2 separate regions of the Homo sapiens genome follow, and region 2 is linked to region 1. Evidence: promoter capture Hi-C in 16 types of primary human blood cells and fetal thymus (Javierre and others, 2016). All regions are on one chromosome and are shown on one strand. Each heading gives the region's core, a stretch centred on a gene start or on the middle of the fragment in contact. The rest is flanking DNA. Distances are from core to core; before and after follow the strand shown. Region 1 holds the start of EFCC1 (EF-hand and coiled-coil domain containing 1). Region 2 overlaps RAB43 (RAB43, member RAS oncogene family).

Evidence for each region. Contacts are between HindIII fragments. The CHiCAGO score rates a contact against its expected background, and 5 or more counts as called.
Region 2: a contact is called between a fragment that was not itself captured here and the fragment with the promoter of EFCC1 in region 1, in 1 of 17 cell types (naive CD4 T cells). The highest score is 5.5, in naive CD4 T cells.

What each region holds. Positions count from the first base shown.
Region 1 is chr3:128,998,794-129,003,705 of GRCh38, reverse strand. EFCC1 (EF-hand and coiled-coil domain containing 1) reads right to left here and starts at 2,402. Exons shown (of 8, transcript NM_001377500.1): 1 at 1,382-2,402. The coding sequence starts at 2,077. It also overlaps a transcript of CFAP92 not described here. The HindIII fragment of the contact is 12,645 bases long and covers 1-4,319 here.
Region 2 is chr3:129,112,635-129,117,554 of GRCh38, reverse strand. All of the region lies in intron 1 of RAB43 (RAB43, member RAS oncogene family), which reads left to right. All of the region lies in intron 11 of ISY1-RAB43 (ISY1-RAB43 readthrough), which reads left to right. Among named protein-coding and RNA genes, the nearest start is that of RAB43, 6.7 kb to the left of the region's middle. RefSeq lists an enhancer at 4,736-4,920. The HindIII fragment of the contact is 1,673 bases long and covers 922-2,594 here.

The DNA of each region.
Region 1 (4,912 bases), core at 1,153-3,652:
CTGCACCCAGAAGCGCTTGAGCACGTTTCTTGCGCCGTCTGCTTCCGGGTGCCAGGCCCTTAGGTCCGGTGCGTCCAAGCTCCTTTAACCCTCGCCACATCCCCAGGGAGGCCCAAGCTCTGATTCCTCCTCATCCCCCACCCCCCAACGTTTTTTCACTGAAGGAAACTGAGACACGACGCCTGTATTCTGTTCCCTCTATAGTACCAACCTCGCGACTCTTCTCGGCCTACTGTATTGGCGGCGTTCAGCCTGCCGGGTGGCGGTTCCTCATCTCCTAGACTCCCCCCAGTGGCATTTCCAGCCCTCCCCGTGCCTGCTCACTAGAGGCTTTTGAGGGTGGTTTCTATCTGTCTTTACTGGTGTGTTCCCAGAGCCTAAAACAAACCTGGCACATAGTAGGTGCTCAATAAATACCAAGCATGAGAGATGCCGGAAGACCGTTCAGGCGCATCCCATGGCTCCCAGTACGTTACTTGGGATTCCACATCAGAGGAGTAGTTTCCCGCCTCCACCCTGGCTTCCATGCACACTGACACTGAAAACCACACCTTGCCACTTCCCTGCACTCTGCAGTGTCCTGAGCTAAGGCGGGGTCATATAATGTCAGTTTCTTCCTGGCCTGTTGTCGCCTGGGGTAGGGGCTGTTCCTTTCCTCCTCTGACCCCTGCGGCCCAGCACTGCCCTTGGTGCTCGGCTGGCACAGTGCTTAAGTGTTTGTCGACGGCTCCCAGATGCTAAGGCTGGGTCCCTATCTCACCCCATGGTTTCTTCTCAATAGCCCAGAGCGGGTCTGGTTCCCGCAGGCACTTGGTGGCCCGTGAGTGCCTGATCCACAGTGTGAGCCACATTGTCTGTTTCTCACTTGTCTCTGTTTCTCCCACAGGGAGCCCCATAAGTCTTTGCTGATTGACAGAAGGAGCTGTCAGTCTACCCCAGGAGGCAGGGATATCCCTAAAGGTGAGGACAGGGCCTTCTTCACACTTCTGTCTCCTAAACCTCCCAGAAGCCTGGCAGGAAGGAGAGAGAAAGATGCTTGTTGAAAGGGAATATGTGAGACTACCCAGACAGGTGCAATTCCTAGGTTAAAGGGGCAAGACGCGATGATGTGGCGGTGGAGCAGAAAAGTGGGGTATGGTTGTTTGAGTGTGATTGGGGTTTTCAGGAATGGAATAGGTGGTAAGAATAGGGTTGGGGACTGGAGTGGAATGGGGAGGAACAGGGGCAAGATGCAAGTGTGCTGATGCGGAGTGGGATGGTGTGGGGCTGCCCTCTGTCTCCCCTTCCTCTGACTCTGTCCTGTCGGGCTCCGCAGCCAGCCAGCTTTTAGTTCGAGCCCTCTCCCGGGCGTTACCACCCTCCCTTCGTGGCCGGCGCGCACCTGCAGTGCTAGGCAGCGCGCATCACTGCTCTGCAGCGCGGCGCGCAGGTCCTCCACCAACTCGCGCAAGCTGCTATTCTCCTCCTCCAGCCGCGCAACGCGCTCACAGTCAGGACCGCTGTCGGGGCCAGGCGCGCAGGGCGGGCGGCGGCGGCGGCGCGGACGGCGCAGGCGGATCTGCGTCTCGATGTGCTCGCTGAGAGCGCCGCGGGGCAGCCGGGGCCCCGCACGGGTGCCGAAGTAGCCACAGAGGCGCGCGTGGAACTGGCGGAAGGTGAGCTCCGGCGGCTCGGCGCGCAGCGCCAGGCGCGCCTCTTCATCGGTATCTGAGTCCCCGTCCGTGGCCAACTCAGCGGCCGCATCCCCGGGGGTCACATCTCTGGAGTTCCCGTCACCTGCTGCCTGCCCGGCCGTGGTGGCCCCCTCCGCGCGCAGCCCCAGCACAGCGCAGAGCGCTCGGAAGTCGGCGCGGGGCAGACGGCCGGCGCCGCGGCAGTCCAGGTGGTGGAAGACCTCCTGCAGGTACTGGTCCAGGCCGGTGGCCAGCACCACGATCTCGTTCTCCACGCCGCGGTCCAGCCCGTAGTGGTGCGCCAGGGCGCTCAGCAGCCACTGCGTGCGCCGCGCAGGTCGCCGGTACGGGTCACCTCCCGCGCCCTCCATGCCGGCCTCCGCGCCCGTGCTGACCGGCTCCATCGCTGCGCCGCGCGCCTCGCTCCTCCGGTCCCTCCTCCGGTCCCTTCGCCCCGCCACTTCCAGGGGCGGCCCCAGAGTTTCTCGAAAGGAGGGGCTTAGCGGTCGCGGTCTGGTTGGAGCGGCGCCGGGGACCGTGTCCAGCAGCTGCGCTGGCCTCACAGTGCGTCTGGTTTACCCCAGTTGCTTTGGAGGGGCCTGGGGTAGGGGGTCCAGGAACCCCCGGGACCCCGGCAGCGCCACCAGTGCCCGGTCGGCGTCTGGGTCTGGCTTCTCCGCGTGACTCCCACGCTCTCCTCTCCTCACTCACGGGGCGTTCCTGGCGTCTGCGCTTTTCCTCCCACTCCCGGCCGTCCACTCTCAACTCCCTCCTCCCTCCGCCCCGCCCGCCTGGCGCGGAGAGTTCGCTCCGAGACCTGGGCGAGGGGTTGGCGCGGGATCCGAAGCCCAGGAGGGCCTTGGGGGTGGCGGCCTCGTCCGGTTGCTGGGGATGTGCCCCCACACCCAAGCGTCACTCTTCCCCCTCTTCCCGGAAGGCCTTTCGAGGGTTGCCTGGCAAGCCTGCTCTCGCCGCCCTGTAGCCGTAGGTGCGGAAAAGCCTCCCCTCCGCTTCAATTCAGCTACTGGGTTTCCGAACCCACTTCTTGTGCCACCATAGACCGTGCAAAGAGCCCCAAGTAGTAACTGGGAAAGAGAGGGAAACAGGCTTGGAGAGGCAAGGGGTCTAGGTTAGGGGCACCCCGCTGGTGAGAAGCCCATCTGAGACGAGCCCTGTGCTAACTGCTCTCTCCCGATCCCTGTTGGGGGTGGGGATAGGACTCTCGGGAAAGTGGTGTCTCCCGGCCCTGCCACCTTTGTGCCTGCCGGTGCTGACTTGGCAATGGGATCCGAGTTCCATCTCTTGAGCTGGGGTTAGGTTAACAGGTCGATGATTGGCTGATGTTTTTTTCTGGTGTTTTAGAACACATTTCTGGAAGATGAAGAAAAACCTGCTTCTCTGGTGAGTGCTAGACTGTGTTCCCTTTCTTTTTCACGAGAGGGGTGCAGTGATATTGTGATATTGTCCACCTGTTACCTGCACCGGGAACGGTTATCCAGCCACGGTACCCAGCCATGTTGGAGCAAGAGGCAGACTCTTCAGCTGTTCCTAGCTATGACAGAGACAGAATCTTGCCTTGTGGATAACTCTGTGAGTTTAAATGTAAAATCTTGCCGTTTGAAAAGCGATAGCATTCTGTCTCCTCTGCCACAGTATCCCAGAATCAGCACGTTGTCCATTTGGCAAATTCGTACTTGTTCTTGAAGGCTTTGCCCAGAGTACATATCTGCTGGGAAGGAGTTAGAGGCTTCTCCCCAAGCATTTTGGACATATTCTTTTAGGTTTGTTTTTAATTATAAAAGTAATGGCAATTTGACAAAGTTTTTACATCACGTCCACTTCTTGGCTTCTACCTTCGAAAGCCACTGTGCACAGGATGTTCACTGCATCATTGTTTATTACAGTGAGAAACTGGAGACAACCTGGTGTCCATCAAATCAGCTAGGACTCAGCAAACGAGGATGAGCGGACACAGCAAGCCACAAGCTGATTATGCACAACACTGATGCTTACATAACAAGAACAAAAACACACAAAACAATACTAAGTATTTTCTACTAGGACATGTGTATGTGAGTGCACAGAAGAAGATGGAGGGATTCATAAGTGGATTCAGTGGTTCTTTCTGCAGATGGGAGACACTGCAGTATTTCCCTTTTGTTAAGATGTTCTCATGTGTTTCTTTTTCTTGGCCGGTCGCGGTGGCTCACGCCTGTAATCCCACCACTTTGGGAGGCCGAGGCGGGTGGATTGCCTGAGGTCAAGAGTTCGAGAACAGCCTGGACAACATAGTGAACCACCCCCATCTCTACTAAAAATACCAAAAGTTAGCTGGGCGTGGTGGCAGGCGCCTGTAATCCCAGTTACTTGGGAGGCTGAGGCAGATGAATCGCTTGAACCTGGGAGGCGGAGGTTGCAGTAAGCTGAGATCCTGCCATTGCACTCCAGCCTGGGCGACAGAGCGAGACTCCGTCTCAAAAAAAAAAAAAAAAAAAAAAAAAGAACCTGATTTTATTTCATGTCAGCCCTAAGAGCTGGTAGCCCAGGCAAGAGTGCAACACCCTCCCCACCCCCCATCCCTGCAGCTGGTGAAGGAATCCTTTGAACAGTAGCTTTCCTGGGCCAGTCAATATTGAAAAGAAAGCTTTTAAATGTCTTGCTGGGAGCCGTTGCCGGCCTCCACTCCCCTACAGCTCAGGGAAGTAAGGGTTGATAATGGTTTGCTGTCAGGCCTGTCTGTCTGCCCTGCGGTGTTACCAGGCACCTCTGAAATAATTCTGGTTGCATCCACAAGGTTTTTGTTTAAGGTTCAAAGTGAGCAAACTCAGAGGTCTCCTTGCGTTCTTTTGTATGAGCTGGGGGGATGGGCGTGTGTCTGTGTGGGAGAGAGTCAGGGCTGTGGCAAAGAAATGATTTTCTGAAGTCAGTTCAGTATTGTTTGAGCCATTTCAAATAGTATATTGTTTAAAGTGTCTTTTAAAGGTCCGGGAAAATGCTAAAAAGCAAAAATCATCCACCATTCTGCCACCAAGAGAGGATCACTGTGTATTTCTGATGTATTTATTTCCAGACTTTTCTATGTATTTGGGCATGAAAGAACTTTTTGGAGTGATTGAAATACTCTATCTTCATGGTGTAGTGGTTGCATGACTGTGTACATCTGAATTTTACAGTGTGCAAATCGTAGCTCATTCAACTTGACATGAAAAGCACAGTGGAAAGGGCGCCATTGGGATCTT
Region 2 (4,920 bases), core at 509-3,008, 110 kb before region 1:
GAGACACTGCTGTACGAGTCAGTAAGGCTTTGTATATGGTGATCATTTCCAGTGTTCTTGTGGATGCATTTGACTGTAGCTATGAGAACTGGACTTATAAAGTGAATCTGAGTGCTGCTTATCTTGCATACTGTGGAGTCTCTGACAGAGAGCACTGGACTAGGAGTCTGAAGTTCTGAGTCTTGCTTCAACCCTGCCACAGACTTGGGCAATTCATTTTTTTTCTCCTTGGAGCCTCAGGCTTCCTCATCTGTGAAATGGGACTAATGGTCTTTGCTCTGCCTCTTTCTTAGGGTTGTCAGAAAACTTTGAACATGCTTAAAATAAAGTTTCCATGACTTACTTTTGAATAGATAAACCATTCACATGGTTCAAATTTCAAAATTTTAAAAACTTCAAAGGGTATATATAGTGAAAAGTCTCCCTTCCGTGTTTGTCCCGTAAGCCACCCAGTGTCCTCTAAGAAGAAGCCATCAGTGTTACTCATTTCTTATTTAAAAACAAGGATTTATAAATATATATTTTTTTATTGCTGCAGTTACTGTTTTCCTCCCTAGATGAGACAGATTAGGTCTGAATTTGCCCCTCCCCCACCCCTCCCTCCTCCCCACCTCAGTGTCCTCAGGAAATCTCAGCTGGCTCTAAATCCTTAAAACATTCTGAAGCTCCTCTACTCACTCTTATCTGGGACAACACAAAGGCCTGTTATGTAAACTCGTTTTTGCAGATCACTAGGCACACCGGCCTCAAGTCCAGCGCAGAGGTCAGCCTTATGGAACTGTACCCCTCTATTCAGCTCTCTCTCAGGCTCACTGTCTGCTCGCTAGGGATGCTGCCAGATCTCTCCTTCATAGAGGTAAAGTCTGTGCCCTTGGGCCTGGACCTCCAGATTTCAGGACCTTTGGCCTTGACTCTCAAGCTTCCCCTTGCCCTAGGAGTCAAATTTGTTTTTGTAGCTGCTCCTGGCACTTCAAAAAGAGGGGGCAGGGCGGGATAAGAGGAAATGGTTTCTGGTTAAAGTTTGCATTCACAGTCCTTCCAATCAAGAGTCTAGTTCTGCTCATCTGTTCTTTTCCTATTTGGATAAAGTTTGTTTGACTTTTTCAGTTTTCATTAGAAATAGCAAAAGGACTGTTAGATAAGAAAGAAGTTCTAGGTCGTGCTGATTTTCTGAAGAAATCTGTTCTTGATACCAGGGACAGCCATCCTAATTGCAAAATAAACCTTGCCTCTCGAGGTTTCTTAGAATCCTGAGACAGCATGTCTGGTGGAGAGATAGTGGAAAGAGGGCCAGCTTTAGAACTGCACAGCACCAGGTTAAATCTTATCCTCAATGGATATGTTCTAAGACCCCCAGTGGATGCCTGAAACTTCAGATGGTACTGAACGCTATATAGACTATGTTTTGTCTTATACATACATGCCCATGATAAAGTTTAATTTATGAATTAGGCACAGTACGAAATTAACAACAATAATTAATAACAAAATAGAACAGTTATAACAATATGCCAGCATCGCTATTCCTGCGCTTTGGGGCCATTATTAAGTAAAATAAGGATTCTTTGAACACAAGCACTGTGATACAGTACATGCTGGACAAAGGTATGATTCACATCCCAGGTGGGACGGAGCAGGATGGCGTGAGATTTCATCATGCTACTCAGAATGATGTGCAATCGACTTATGCATTATTTCTAGAATCTACCATTTAATATTTTTATTTGTTTTTTTGAGACAGAATCTCACTCTGTCGTCCAGGAGGGAGTGGAGTGGTGTGATCTCGGCTCACTGGAACCTCCACCTCCCAGGTTCAAGCGATTCTCCTGCCTCAGCCTCCCAAGTAGCTGGGATTACAGGTGCCCACTACCACACCCAGCTAATTTTTGTATTTTTTGGTAGAGATGGGGTTTCACCATGTTGGCCAGGCTGGTCTCAAACTCCTGACCTCAAGTGATCCACCCACCTGGGTCTCCCAAAGTGCTGTGATTACAGGTGTGAGCCACCGCGCCTGGCCTACTTAATATTTTTATTTTTTATTTTATTTTTTGAGACGGGGTTTCGCTCTTGTTGCCCAGGCTGGAGTGCAATGGCATGACCTCTGCTCACTGCAACCTCCGCCTCCTGGGCTCAAGTGATTCTCCTGCCTCAGCCTCCTTAGTAGCTGGGATTACAGGCATGCACCGCTGTGCCTGGCTGATTTTGTTTTTTGTTTTTTGTTTTTTTTTTAGTAGAGACAACGTTTCACCATGTTGGCCAGGCTGGTTTCGAACTCCCGACCTCAGGTGATCTACCCACCTCGGCCTCCCAAAGTGCTGGAATTACAGGCATGAGCCACCACGCCTGGCCCTACTTAATACATTTAGAGCAAAGTTGATGGCAGGTAGCTGAAACCTTGGAAAGTGAAACCATGGATAAGTGGGGGATACTGTACCATAGGCATGTGACTTTACCTCTTCAAATCTGTCTTACCTGCAAAACCCCTACCCTTAAGGACCTGGCCCATAGTGGATCATCCACAGATGGGAACTGATGTTGGTGTGTAACCACCTGATGAGAGAGAGTGGATTGCGGGGGGTGGGGGTCAGGAAGCTTGGTTTCTCAGCCTAGTTGCCCAGCTGACCGTAAACAAGTCACTTCATTGACCTGTTGTCCTATCAGTAAAGTGAAGACAATAAAGGCAAGAGACTGGCCCCTGTGGCTATGCTCGTACTAGAAATAGAGCTATACAGTGACCCCAAACTGATCAGGGATTGTGGGAAGTAGAGGCACACAAGGCCTTTACCACCTTTTGTCTCCATGCTGTGACTCAGGATATCCACATGTCTGCTTTCCTTGCTTTCCTCTTGTTCGTTGTTTAGCCCTTGTAGGTTTCTTTACCTTGCACTGGCCTTTGTGTAGTGCTCGGGCTGTGATTGGCCTTTGCTGAGACCTCATGCTAGGCGGTTTTCCTGGGTGCTTTGGGTATGAGGAATTCTCAGAGTTCAGTAATAAGAGGAGCAACTCTCCCTCAAATGTGCATGCGTTTTATAAGTTTCCATCGCTTTTCTCATGAGTTGTTGCATTTGATCCTCATAGCCACCCTGTGGGAGACTATCCCCATCTTACAGAAGAGGAAATGAAGGCCCATTTGTGGCAAAGTCTGAACCAGAGCCAAGCTTTTCAGCTCCTAGTCTGGTACTTTTCTCCTCATTGCTGTCTTGTGCCCTCTCCTACTACCGCAAACACACACAAACCCACAAATGAAAAAAGTTGGGACTGATTTAAAATCTAGGCCATCTTGTATTGCTTGCATTTTACACATTGATTAGCAGTGTCATGTCAACATTTTAATGCCCAGTACTTATTAAATAAATGTTTATTAATTCAGATGAACTGGGGGTAGTGTTCGGAATGGCCAGTGTGAATGACAGAAAAATCCCACTTTCTAGACTGGCCTGTGAAATGCTGTTTTATTGTTGATGTGGCAGCAGAAGCTAACCAAATGCTGTTACATACCAGATCTTTCTTTTTTTTTTCTTTCGAGACGGAGTCTCGCTCTGTCACCAGGTGGAGTGCAGTGGCGCGAGGCGTGATCCCGGCTCACTGCAACCTCCACCTCCCTGGTTCAAGCAGTTCTCCTGCCTCAGCCTCCCAAGTAGCTGGGACTACAGGCACACACCACCACGCCTAGCTAATTTTTGTATTTTTAGTAGAGACGGGGTGTCACCATGTTAGCCAGGATGGTCTCGATCCCTTGACCTCGTGATCTGCCTGCCTCAGCCTCCCAAAGTGCTGGGATTACAGGCGTGAGCCACTGCGCCTGGCCACATATCAGATTTTTCTAACCTGCTTTGGGTTCATGAATAAGGACCGTTTGCCATTAATAGCTCCTATCCAGATACCATTAAAATCAGCTCTCCTCTACTTGCACCAGTTTGCCTCGCAAATCTCCCTTTTCTGGATTGGAAGAAGGCAAACTTAATCCCAGAAGCGGTGTGTGAGCACTACTTGTTAGAGGTTTTCACCTGTGCTCGTGAATGACCACTCTGAAATCCCAAAAACAGAGTGTGGCTAGAGAGTAATGTGACTGGTGTTCAAAAATAGCCTAGGGCCGAGTGTAGTGGCTCATGCCTGTAATCCCAGCACTTTGGGAGGCCGAGGCGGGCCGATCATGTGGTCAAGAGTTCAAGACCAGCCTGGCCAACATGGTGAAACCCCATCTCTACTAAGAATACAAAAATTAGATGGGCATGGTGGCGCATGCCTGTAATCCTAGCTACTCGGGAGGCTGAGGCAGGAGAACCACTTGAACCTGGGAGGCGGAGGTTGCAGTGAGCCAAGATCGTGCCACTGCACTCCAGCCTGGGCGACAGAGCAAGACTCCATCTCGAAAAAAAAAAAATAATAATAATAATAATAAAAATAACCTAAAACTCAAACGTGTATATGAGTGCTATCCCTTTCAGAGTCATCTCTTTGAGTAATTGTATATGCATTTCCCGAAGGTTTCATCCGCTGTGATGCTGTGTTCAGAAACTTCTCTAGAACCTGCACCTGCTTTGGTGGGTATTCCAGGGGTGGGTTTGATAAATAAAAACAGTCAAAAGAAGCCTGGACAACATAGGAAGACCTCATCTCTACAAAAAAATTAATAATTAGCCAGGTGTGGTGATGCATGTCTGTAGTCCCAGCTACTGAGGAGGCTGAGGCGGGAGGATTGCTTAAGTCCCAGAGATCAAGTCTGCAGGTAACTATGACCATACCACTGCACTCCAGCCTGGGTGACAGAGTGAGACCCTGTCTCAAAAAAAAAAAAGCAACAAAAACCAGCCTGCCTACCATAATGTTAGCAGTTCTTCTGTCCAAAATGAGGTCTGGCTATAAAATAATTCTGGTTCATGTTAGGCAATTCCTGTATGTGCTGGGCACTGGCAGCTG